4 separate regions of the Homo sapiens genome follow, and regions 1, 2 and 3 are each linked to region 4. Evidence: promoter capture Hi-C in 16 types of primary human blood cells and fetal thymus (Javierre and others, 2016). All regions are on one chromosome and are shown on one strand. The core of a region is centred on a gene start or on the middle of the fragment in contact, and the rest is flanking DNA. Distances in the headings are between cores, read along the strand shown.

What was found. The method cuts DNA at HindIII sites, captures the fragments that hold promoters and counts their contacts. A CHiCAGO score of 5 or more calls a contact.
Region 1: a fragment that was not itself captured here is called in contact with the fragment with the promoter of CCDC182 in region 4 in 6 of 17 cell types (total B cells, naive B cells, total CD8 T cells and 3 more); the score reaches 11.1 in total B cells.
Region 2: a contact is called between a fragment that was not itself captured here and the fragment with the promoter of CCDC182 in region 4, in 1 of 17 cell types (naive CD8 T cells). The highest score is 6.4, in naive CD8 T cells.
Region 3: a contact is called between a fragment that was not itself captured here and the fragment with the promoter of CCDC182 in region 4, in 5 of 17 cell types (total B cells, naive CD8 T cells, total CD4 T cells and 2 more). The highest score is 8.5, in total B cells.

Annotation. Positions count from the first base shown.
Region 1 is chr17:57,284,682-57,287,381 of GRCh38, forward strand. The region is part of intron 5 of MSI2 (musashi RNA binding protein 2); the gene reads left to right. Among named protein-coding and RNA genes, the nearest start is that of MSI2, 30 kb to the left of the region's middle. RefSeq lists an enhancer at 157-426. The HindIII fragment of the contact is 690 bases long and covers 958-1,647 here.
Region 2 is chr17:57,352,270-57,355,207 of GRCh38, forward strand. The region is part of intron 5 of MSI2 (musashi RNA binding protein 2); the gene reads left to right. Among named protein-coding and RNA genes, the nearest start is that of MSI2, 97 kb to the left of the region's middle. RefSeq lists an enhancer at 2,683-2,732. The HindIII fragment of the contact is 1,889 bases long and covers 478-2,366 here.
Region 3 is chr17:57,302,932-57,305,631 of GRCh38, forward strand. The region is part of intron 5 of MSI2 (musashi RNA binding protein 2); the gene reads left to right. Among named protein-coding and RNA genes, the nearest start is that of MSI2, 48 kb to the left of the region's middle. The HindIII fragment of the contact is 8,097 bases long and covers 1-2,700 here.
Region 4 is chr17:57,743,856-57,746,555 of GRCh38, forward strand. CCDC182 (coiled-coil domain containing 182) reads right to left here and starts at 1,444. Exons shown (of 1, transcript NM_001282544.2): 1 at 640-1,444. The coding sequence starts at 1,417. The coding sequence ends at 956. The HindIII fragment of the contact is 19,296 bases long and covers 1-2,700 here.

The DNA.
Region 1 (2,700 bases), core at 53-2,552, 460 kb before region 4:
GACTCTTGTGTCTCCTAGTGTAGAGTTGATTTTGTTTTTTGGGGTCACCATGGAGATGAGAAGCATGGGGCTTCATGGCGTCATCTGCCCCCATTGGGGGAGGGCTTGTTGGCACAGGTCACCTCTGGATCAACCTCAGCCTCATCTGCTGGGGATGGGAGAAGCTCAAGTTGGCCAGGGGTTTACCCTATGCCCTCCTCAACCAGAATTAAAATGACCTTTTTTTTTTTTTTGCCTTCGAAGACAACATTGGTAACAATTTATTGAAACTATGGAGCTTAGCAGTGATCAGTTTTTGGATTTTCTCTTTCTTCAACCCCTCCCCTTTCTGGAAGACTTGTAGGAGGATAGGGGAGGTTTTTCTGTGCATAGATTGGCGTCGGTTTCTTAGAAGTTTCTTCTTTTCACCTTAAAAAAAATTGTTTGCATCCTTCCCCTTAGATAAGGAACCGTCAACATCCTTGTTAGAGCCCAGTGCGGAGGGGACCCTGAGGCACATACTGTTTTCAAGGTTAGATAGCAACAAACTTTCAGAGTAGCCGGAGTTTCAGGGGAGGGAGGGTTCTTTGGGTTCAAGGTTACCCATTTTTCCCCTGCTAGGAAGAAAGCCTTTTTGTTTTCTTTTGCCGACTTCTTCCAATAGCTTAGAGCAAATAGATTAGCAACCCAGCAGAAACCAAACCAAGGAACAAATAAAGGGGAAGTTTGCAGAGGGCCCTTGGCTGGGGGCTGGCTGCTGCTGAGGAGGCCAACTTGCGGTTTTCCATTTTCACGGTGAACCGCATTGTCTCAGCGTTCGCTGGTATTCACAAAATCAGAAAGAAAGGAAGGTGGTGGTGGGAGGGCGCACTTTTCAGGAGAGGCTGGGGTGTGGGGAAAGTATGCCCAGCTGCATGTTATTAGCAGCCTTCAAATAAAGTTTGTGGAAGGTTCCGGCCCCCACAGTCATGCCTGGGAAGCTTCTGTGTTCTTAGTAGGTGTTTTGAATTCTGTGGGATGGAACTGAATGTTTAAAAACAGTTACAGGAACGTCTCCCCAAGTAGGTATTCCTGAGAATTTCTGTGTACATGGAACTCTATTTTCTTAGCAAGCATCATTATATTTTTAGAAATGTTTTCTTTTCTCCTTGCCCGTCAGTTAGCCAAGCCTCCTACCACTCACTTTCTGTTGTGTAGTTCTGATTTTCCGAACAGGTGTTTAGATGATGAGGGGTTATATTAAGAAAGTACTAAAGAATACGTCTTATCACGTGAATCAGTATCTTTTTATTCAACATGGATGGAGTGGGAGTGGAGACCAATCTGTTTTATATTCCTGCAATCTGATGAGGGTAAGAAAAAGTTCATGCTGTTCATATTAGCTAGCCAGCCTCTTTCTGTCTTTCCCTCCCTTCCTTCTTTCTTCTTTATTTTTTCTTTCTTTCTTTTGTCTAATACCTAATTCCTTATCTCATTTTTGGGATTTTGAGAGAATAATTTTCATGTGGGGCGACAGAACTAGTGGTTGTAGTTTCACTTGTTTTTTTGACATTAAGGAAACAACAAATAGTCTTTTTTTTTTTTTCCTCAGACTGAGCACACATTTTAAGTGTTTTAGGGGGAAGCTCTGAAGGCAGTTTGTGGTGATTTTTAAAAAAATGTTTTTAAAGCTTTAGTCTCTCCTGGAAGCTTTGTGTGTCCCTGCATTTTCCTCGACGGTCGCTAATAAGAACTGCTGGTCTAAATCAGTGTCTCTGAGAGTCATTGATTCACTAATTGCTCATCATCGAGTCCTGGCTTCCCCCTCCTGCTGAGAGCACTTTTGTTTTCTGCTATTCTGCAAGGACTTGGACAGATTTCTGGAGTGTTTAAGAGGTAACCAATAAAAGAGTTTGGCGTGCCCCTGTTGGTAATTGTGCTTCTCGGAGGTGACCACGTCATTGGTATCCGGGCTCCATAAACAAGGGGCTGCCTTACCAGTGACCTTTCCCGCCTAAAACCGAAGGCCCCAAGGTCGCTTGTCTGATGGAGAATGTATTTCCCGGCTCACTGTGAGCCTCGACTTAATTTGTTCCTTTCCTAAGGCAAAATGACCTTCCAGTAAACCCACACCCCCTCCCCCGCTTATTATTATTTATTTATTTTTCTGGTGAACAAACAGAATTAGGAAAGGTGTGTTCTTCCAGGAGAGAGCGGGCAGTGTGGGAGGAGATGGCAGTCTGGCTCATTAAAATGCCGAGGTAGGTTTAAGCTGATTGCCAAGTGCGGGTCCTGCAGGTCAGAGTGTGATGCCCAGAAACAAAGCAAGGCCTAGGGAGAGGCTGGCCTGGAGGCAACTGGCTCGCGCCGCAGAGAGTTTTGAAGCCACATTTCTTCATTGGAAATTTAAAAAGAAAGAAAAAAAGCAGCCCCTTTTGCTCCATATTTATCATCTCTATAGTACCCTACAAATAAGTGGTCTCAAAAAGTTGTTTTTTTTTTTTTTTAATTTGCTGAACCTTTATAATAGGACCCTTTCTGAGGGCCCCGTGAGCCCAAGAATGCCTCCTTGCAATGTGAGTGTGGGAAATTAGTGCAGGCCCAAGGAAAGGAAGTGTGAAACTGCTTCCCTCAGTGAACACCCAGCCTGGCGAGGCTGTCCTGTGTGTCTTGGAAGCCCTGCTGGGCCTGAGTTTGGGTGCCATATAATTTGCTGGCCTAGCACCCCTTCCATGGGTCCCT
Region 2 (2,938 bases), core at 172-2,671, 390 kb before region 4:
TCTCTGTTTTGGGACCTAGGACCATTTTGGTATTTTTCCCAAGTAGAGAAATCTGTGGCCGCCCTTCCTATTTATTCTTTTGATTTCTGGAACTTAGATGTCTGAATAGAGGACTCGATGTTTGTTCCTTTTATTTTATAAAGGAAGTAGGGGAGGAAATAGGACTCTAAGACCTTGGCGGAAAAGAGAAGGGAAGCAGATGAAGAGGAGCTCCCAGGTGAAGGAGGGTGGAACCCTGATTCCTAAATGGGAACAGGTTTGTTCGGACTCACACACTGAGCAGCTCTGTGTTTCTTCTTGCTCTTCCATGCTCACAAAGGTCTGTGATTTTAGGAGGAGGTGTTGAGGGACCCTGGAAGAAAGATAAAGGGTAGGGTCAGAGGAATAAATATCAGCCAATCCCTGAATAATTGTCACCTTAAAAGGCTGTACCTAGACAGGGTTTGTGGTCTTGAAGGAGCCAGTTTCTTATGTTCAAGCTTCTTGGTCTCTTCTTGGTCCATGTGGATTTAACTTGGATGGAATCCCTCTGGCTACCAGTTTGCCTTGGCCAGAAGGAGAAGGGCTCCTCCTAGCCTCCTCCTCTGCTGCTTCAGCCCTGCTGGGCACTGAGCAATTTCACAGGGCGGTGTTAAGGATCAGGGTGTGGAGAGTAGGAAATTAGTAATGACTGGACTGGGTGAGGGTGACTCTTGTAATTTTAAAGAAATGTTTAAAAATTAATCGGTTCTCTGCTCTGCAGCTTTAAAAAAGTCAAGATGGAGAATTTCCCACTGTGACGCCTTTTATTTCTGGAAAGTTGAGTCATTTAATGATGATTTGAATATCAACAGTTCATTGGCCCATCTTTCCCCAGATAGCTCCCGAAAATGCGCTCTCCTCCAGAGAAGGACACTTTTCATTCCTTTAGTTTTCTGGCAACTCAAGTATAGCCTGGCCTCCTGTGTTTCCCCAGACCATTATCGGAGTTGTACTGACCAAATGGGAGTGGGTTTTCACTTGTACCCACTGCTCCTGTTTAAGTCTTCCTTGGACCAACTGTGGGTAGGTGTAAAGCAGGCATGGCTGTGACTTCCACATTGGATGGAGGCTTGATTGATTCGATGTGATTCCTTGGGTTTTCTTGGGGTTGTACTAAGGACTTGTGTGCCCAGGAGGACACAAGGCTAAAGATGGACTTGGTGCACTGATACATGGTTCAGTTAGGAACAGATAGTGGAGGAGCTCCTAAGACATTTACCTAAGATATTCTAAGGGAAATCGTAGACTCTTATTTCCTTTGTTATTTAGGGAGTAGTTGGTGGAGATGTAGGTGGTACCAGTGATGCCATTTCTCTTGTAGGAGCATTTGCTGAGTCAAAGTATCTATTTCCTCTGGAGGGTCCTTGAATTTAAGAGCTTCCAGTACCAGTAGATTGAAGATTTAGTCTGATTATAATTTTTTCCTTGGGTCTCAGAACATTAAGAGTATTCGAAGACCTGGTTCTCTTGTTTCCTCATTAATTTTGGTCCTGGATGGTGCAGGGGTTGGACTGACCTATTAAGTCTCCTTTTCCCCCATCCATGAGCAGTAAGTCTGTCATGGGGATCAGCAAACTCTTTTTTTTTATGTGTGTAAAGGGTCCAGATAGTAAATATTTTAGGCTTTCAGGGATCAGGATGCAATATTGAGGATTTTGTGTAGGTATTTAACATAACAAGAGAGAAAACATTTACGGAGAATTTTTACTGATGAAATTCAAAATATAATGACAATTATTGAGTACAGTTTTTTAAAATACACATTTGCTAATGAGAAGAATGGATTTTGTTTCAGGGGGCATAACATTTTGCTGAATTGGAGTACAAAGTTACTGTTTTCTATTATCAAGTCAGTTATAGATGTTTGTCAGTAAAAACCATTCTTAGTTCTCAGGTAAGAGAAAAACAGATGGCAGACCTGATGTGGACTGCATGCTATAGTTTGCCAACCCCTAGTCAGTAGCATAGCTCTGGTGATGTTAGTTTTGGTGTGGAAAGTGTAAGGACGTGGTATGGCCCAGGACCCCATGTTGCTCTTTGAATGGCTGGGAAGGTGTTTGAATGCCACAACACTGGAATTTTGTGTATTTAATAAATAGTGGTAGAGAGGCCAGGCAATAGAAATACAGAAGTGAGCAGGATGGTCAAGGTCAATGCCCTGGGAGAGCTTACATTCTAAGAGAGATGATAAGTGAATATAAAATTTGATTCCAGGTGGGGGAGGGGTGTTTAAAGGATGTCTCTCTGGGAGGTGATATTTGGATAGAGATCTGAACTAAGGGAGGGAATGGTCGCCAGAACTTTAGGTGAGGCAGCAGCAGAGGCAACATCTTGAGATAGGAGAAAGCTTGATAAGTGTGAACCTCCAGGAAGTGCAGGTGAGAGCAGAGAGGGTGTGATGAGGAAGGGGGTGGGAGAGGAGTTTGAGGAGAGAGGCAGGGGCCAGATACAAGGAGCCTGGGAGCTTGTATTAATACAAAGGAGCATGCGATGGGATGTTGTTGGAAGGATTCGAGCAGCCAGAGAATGATGCAGTATGATTAACTGTTGGAGAAGATCTCTCTAGCTGCTGGGCAGAGTAGACTCTAGAAGGCAAGAGTGGAAGTGGTTTTATGGGGCCACAAAACTGAGTGTTGAAAATAAAGATAGTCTGAAAAATGTGGAGTCTGTGACCAGCATATTTTTAAGATTGTCTTCTGTGTCATAAGTCAGGATCCTTCTGGTTTCAAATAACCCAACTCAAAGGAACCCAACCAGAAAGGAGAATACCTTGGCCCACATAACTGTAAAGTCCAGGAGTTTTCCTGGTTTTGTCACAGCTGGTCCCAGGGCTCCGGTGATGTCACCATGGCTCTCTCTGTCCCTCATCTCTCCTCTCTCCTTTTCTCTGTGGGTTGGCCTCATTCACTCCTTTTGC
Region 3 (2,700 bases), core at 138-2,637, 440 kb before region 4:
AACCCCAAGGTAGAAACTGGCCGAGTGAGGAGGAGAGAGGGAGAAACAGCAACACACTTTTCATAGGGAGGGATGAGGGAAAAAGGACCACCAGGCTCCAGCTGGTGATCAGAGGCCAGAGCGGGGTTGGGCAGGACTGCTGGAGCACAGGATTCCCTGTCCGGTGTTCACGGGGAAGTCCCCAAATCTCAATGAGGGACCCATTGGCCAGGGAGGGTTCTGCTGTGGCTGTAGCTTTGGCGGGGGCGGTCTGTTTTACTACATGTTCAGCTGAGTGCTTTCCTGTGAAAATAGACCTTTGATGTTCTGGAAAATCTGCTTTAACACTTGGGGGAGAGAAGCTGCCTATGGAAGGGGAAAAAAAAGTTATGTTACGAAAGAATGGAATTGCACAGCTCGACATATGCTGGGTTGGTTGTTCTAGTAACCCCATGAGAAGAATTGCAGGACCAAACACAGGCTTTCATTCCCAAGTGAGAAAGCATGTTTAGAAACGCAGTGTGAAGGGGGAAAAATATCAGAGGCTAACATTGTGTTTCTGTTGTGAATACAACTATATAAATATTACCTGTGCTTATGGACAAGGTCCAGGAGGAACAGGGAAAAATAATAGTTGATTTCATTTGTGTGGTGGGATAGTGGGTGTTTTAAAAATTATTGTATTATTATTATTGTACAGGAAAAAATCTTTACTCAAATAATCCTGGCCTCAGCGGTCTGTTATTTTGCTACATCACTCGGAATACCTGTCAACACATTTATTTATTGAGTTCCTAATATGATGGGCCCTTTGAGGAAGAAGACACTAGTCCCTGCCTCCAAGAAACTTACAAACTATTATGGGATGCTAGACTGTAAATACCCAGGATGTGAATGATAGTTCAGTAGCGTAATGGGCCGTCACACAAGGTGTCGTGTGGTTAATTGTCAAAGGAAGTAGAAAACAGTACAGGCTCTTCCTGGGGTCTTTCAGGAGGATTTCTCAGAAGAGGTGGCCTTGAGAGAGTCCCTCAAGCATGGGAGGACCTGAATTACTAGAGGGAGGAGGGAAGGGAGTCTTGGAGGGAAGGAGCAGGGAGGGAGAGCTTTATCCAAAGGGGAACACCCAGAAAAATAGTTGGGAGCCATATTAAGAGCCCATTGATGGCTGTGCGCCATGGCTCACGCCTGTAATCCCAGCACTTTGGGAGGCCGAGGCGGGTGGATCATGAGGTCAGGAGATTGAGACCATCCTGGCCAACATGGTGAAATGCTATCTCTACTAAAAATACAAAAAATAGCTGGGCGTGGTGGCGTGCGCCTGTAGTCCCAGTTACTTGGGAGGTTGAGGCAGGAGAATCGCTTGAACCCAGGAGGTGGAGGTTGCGGTGAGCCGAGATTGCACCACTGCACTTCAGCCTGGGCGACAGAGTGAGACTCTGTCTCCAAAAAAAAAAAAAAAGAAAAAAGAAAAAAAGAAACCCATTGACTATCAGGATAAAGAGTAATTTTTTTTTTTTTTTTCCTTTTGAGACCGAGTCTCACTCTATCTCCCAGGCTGGAGTGCAGTCGTGTGCTCTCGGCTCACTGCAGCCTCCACCTCCCCGGTTCAAGCGATTCTCCTGCCTCTGCCTCCCGAGTAGCTGGGACTATAGGCGCCTACCAGCACGCCCAGCTAATTTTTGTATTTTGAATAGAGACAGGGTTTCACTATGTTGGGCCAGGCTGATCTCGAACTCCTGACCTCAGGTGATCCTTCTGCCTCGGCCTCCCAAATTGCTGGGATTACAGGTGTGAGCCATCGCACCCAGCCAGGAGAAGCTATTAAGAGTTTACCCAGAATTCCTCCCTGAGATTCACTATTTGTCAGTAGTCTTAAGCTATTTTTGGGTAGGTCCTCTTTCAGCATAGGGTGAAACCTCTGGACCCTCTCCTAAGAAAAATCCCCTTAGAACTACAAGAGGTCTCCCACAGAGGGGTTTTCTTAAGGAAGACTCCCCACAGCCCATCCTTGGCAGTGTAGCAAATATGTATCCAGCATCTACTGAGTGCCAGATGTTTTGTGGGACGGGGGGATACAGTAAAAATAAGACAAGCCAGGTCTTCGCTCTCAGAGAGCTTATAGTCTAAATGGAAGGACAGATGCTGAAGACGTGATTACAGGCAGGAGAGTGTTATTAGGAGGTAGACCAGATGCTTGGGAAGAGTGATAGGTGGCCCCAGCCTTTAGGAAAGGCCCCCTCAGTTGGGATTCAGAATGAGGATATTTAGGGGTACAGAATCCCACGGTGTGAGTTGCAGAAGGGCCCGAGCATCTGTCTGGTGGCACCTTCTCAGGAGGAACCTCACTGACCGGCATGGGTGAACCGTTCAGCTAGGGTCTTGGGGAAAGTCAGGCATCTCTGGAGCCTCCGATGTTGAGGATAGGGTAAGAGCAGCATTGTTCTCTGGGGCCCTTTTTCCTTAGTAACACACACTCACCCGGAGCCAGTTGTGCCTTCTTGCAAACAAACAGCTTTCAAGAAGAGTTAATAAATTAATCTTCTGGGAAAAAGAATCTGCTCTGCGCCAGCAAGACCTCTAGCAGCCAGGGCCAGAGACTTGGGCAATGTAGTCAAAACACACGCTGATCACTGTGTGTTACTGCTGACGAGGTTTTAGGCAGCCAGTTCGGTGCGTTTGATATCGGGCAGTTCAGGCAGGGTGAAGGAAGATAAAGTG
Region 4 (2,700 bases), core at 194-2,693:
AGGATGCAGCAGGATGCAAATGAGCACAGCTGACCTGGACTTAAACCATGGCCCTGCCACTTACTAGTGTGCAGACCTTGGGTACTGGACTTGCCTTCCTGCGGCCAGTCTCCCAGTGTGAACCATGGAAAATCAACACTCACCTCCAAGGTGCCTATGGAAGTAAGTGGGATGGTATGTGTGTGTTGCCTGATAAATGGCCAGGCACTGTGACAATAATTCCTGCTCCATGGATCGAACACAGAAATCAGTTTCCCCACTTCCTAGTGCCATCTCAGAGGTGTTGCATTATCGGTTGCTAAAGCTCAGCGAGTTCCACCCACACAGTCCCAATAAGCTCTGTCATTCCGATTGGCCAGTCTGCAGTCTAAATGGAAAGGAAGTAGAGGTAGAAAGAGGCAGCAAAGAAAAGTGAGATGTGACAGTCTAAGAGTAGAGGCAGACAGAAAGACCATACAGACAAGGGTTAGAATACTAAAAACAGAGCAATCTGGGGTAGTGTTAGTGCACGGGCAAGCAGTCCGACCCCTCTGGGGAGATCATGTGTTACGTGATGTGGTATCAGTTGACCAGGTGTTAAGTCTCAAATCATGAAAGCCTCAAATCATTCAAAAAAAAAAAGGTGAATGTTCAACACAATCAGTTTAAGAATATACTATACAAATAAAGAGGTATACATTGAGCAATAGTACCATTACAAACAGGAAAACAGTTCAAGTGAAAGTTACAGGGGCCTGACTCAGTACTGGGGTGCCTCCTTCCTTTAGAATGCTGGATAAATGGAATTTCACCAAAAAAAATATTGAAGTCTTTTTGCCTCTCAGCAAGGTGTTATTTAGGCAGAAGGAAAGCAATGGAAATGAGGAAGGGAAAGCAAGGGGGTAGGGACTTGGGGTTTCTCCTTCCGTTAAAAAAAATCTTCAACTTGGTGCTTGGCTAGTGCCACCCACGAGGTTCAGTCAGCCTGGCTCTTCTTGGTGGCACGCAGGGCGTCACGTCCCCTGTCCAGCAGCAGGTCCTCCAGCCGCTTGCAGTGCTCCCGGAGCTGTTTCTCGCGCGGCAACAGGAAGGTGAGAACCTTGTTGCGCACGATGCCACGGTCCTCCTCCTCCCTTAGCCGCTGCCTCACGCGAGCCGCCTGCTCCTCCTGTTGCACCAGGGCTCCATTCATCTCGCAGAAGGCGTCTTCAAGGTAATGAATGGACTTCAATGCCTCTTTCTTAAAGTCCTCCAGTTCCCGTTGCACCCCGGCCACCTTCTGCTGCAGGATCTCCAAGTCAGCGGGTGGTGGGAGGCAGGAGGGCCATGACTGGGACAGGGAAAAGTCTCCAGACTGGAGGCCACTCTCTATCATTTTTTTCCCCTGTAGGGTATTCACCGTCATGAGAATGGACCCAGCCTGGTAGAGGGGTTCCATTGTCTCTTCTACGTTGGACAAAGAGAGGAAGCCAAGAGACCAACCAGGTCAATAAATATTTTTGGCTAGAGACACGATCATTCGGAGTGGAGAAACCCTAGAATTGTGACATCAGGGCCCCTTCAGCCAACCAGAAAGAAAGCCACAATCCATTCATTTGCATATTGTAGCTTCCTTGGTTGGTTACCTAGAGCTTTGTCTGTTTATCTGACCAAGTCGCCCTCCTGAGATGTGGATCCTTAACTCATCACCCTTCTAGAACCAGAACTCAAGTTCTTCTTTAACCTAAGGAACAAACCAAGTCCCAGAGCAGGGAAGTAAACTGGCCAGAGCAAGGCAGGCCAGGCCAGGCTCACTGGCTGCCAGGACTGGGTGGTCTCCCACACTGGCAAGGGACCTGCATGGTCTTGGACTGGTCTCTGGGCTTTAGTACCTCACTAGTAAAACAAAGACATTGTAAGAGATGATACCTAATCCCACTTGTAGCTCTAAAATGCTAAAAAGTAATCTCTTATTCCAAGTCCATACTCCTATAATGATGTCAGAATTCTATAAAATCTTAGAAATTGCGAAAAATGTACTTAGATTTTGATGTATGGTCCACAGCAATGGCTGATTCAGCAGGTGCAAGGTAAAAATGGGTTAGTCATATTTATTCAATAAATACTAAGTGCTCACTACACACTAGGATCAGGGAACAAGTGAGTGCATGGTCTTCCAACATACCTGAATGTTAACAAATATGAGAAACAACACATAGAAAGGTAAATCTTGTACTTTTTACCTGATAATTAGAACAAAGGAAAATACTTCTAGCTAATCTACATTTGGTTTAGTCAGGAACAAACCTTCATCTTGCACATCTCAGTCTCTTGCCTAGACTTCTCTCCTGGTCTCCAAATCTAAACGTCTCCCCCACAATGGGCCTCCAATTCAAGCCATCCAAAGCTGAATTGGTGATCTCTTTACCCAAACCAGTTCCTGTTCCAGTGTTGCTGTCAGATTAATGAGAGCAACCCAGAACAGCACACACACCAGAGCCCTCATGAGACAACTGGTGCTGTGATGCTAATATTTGTCCCCTCCCAAACTCATGTTGCAATTTAATTACCATTGTAACAGGATTATGAGGAAGGACCTTTAACAGATGATTAGGCTACCCTTTAAGAGATAAATGGATTAACACTGTTATCTTGGGAGCAGGTTCCTTATAAGTGGATAAGTTCAGCCCCTTTATGTCTCTCTCTCACCCTCTCTTTGCCCTTCTACTATGTGATGTCTTC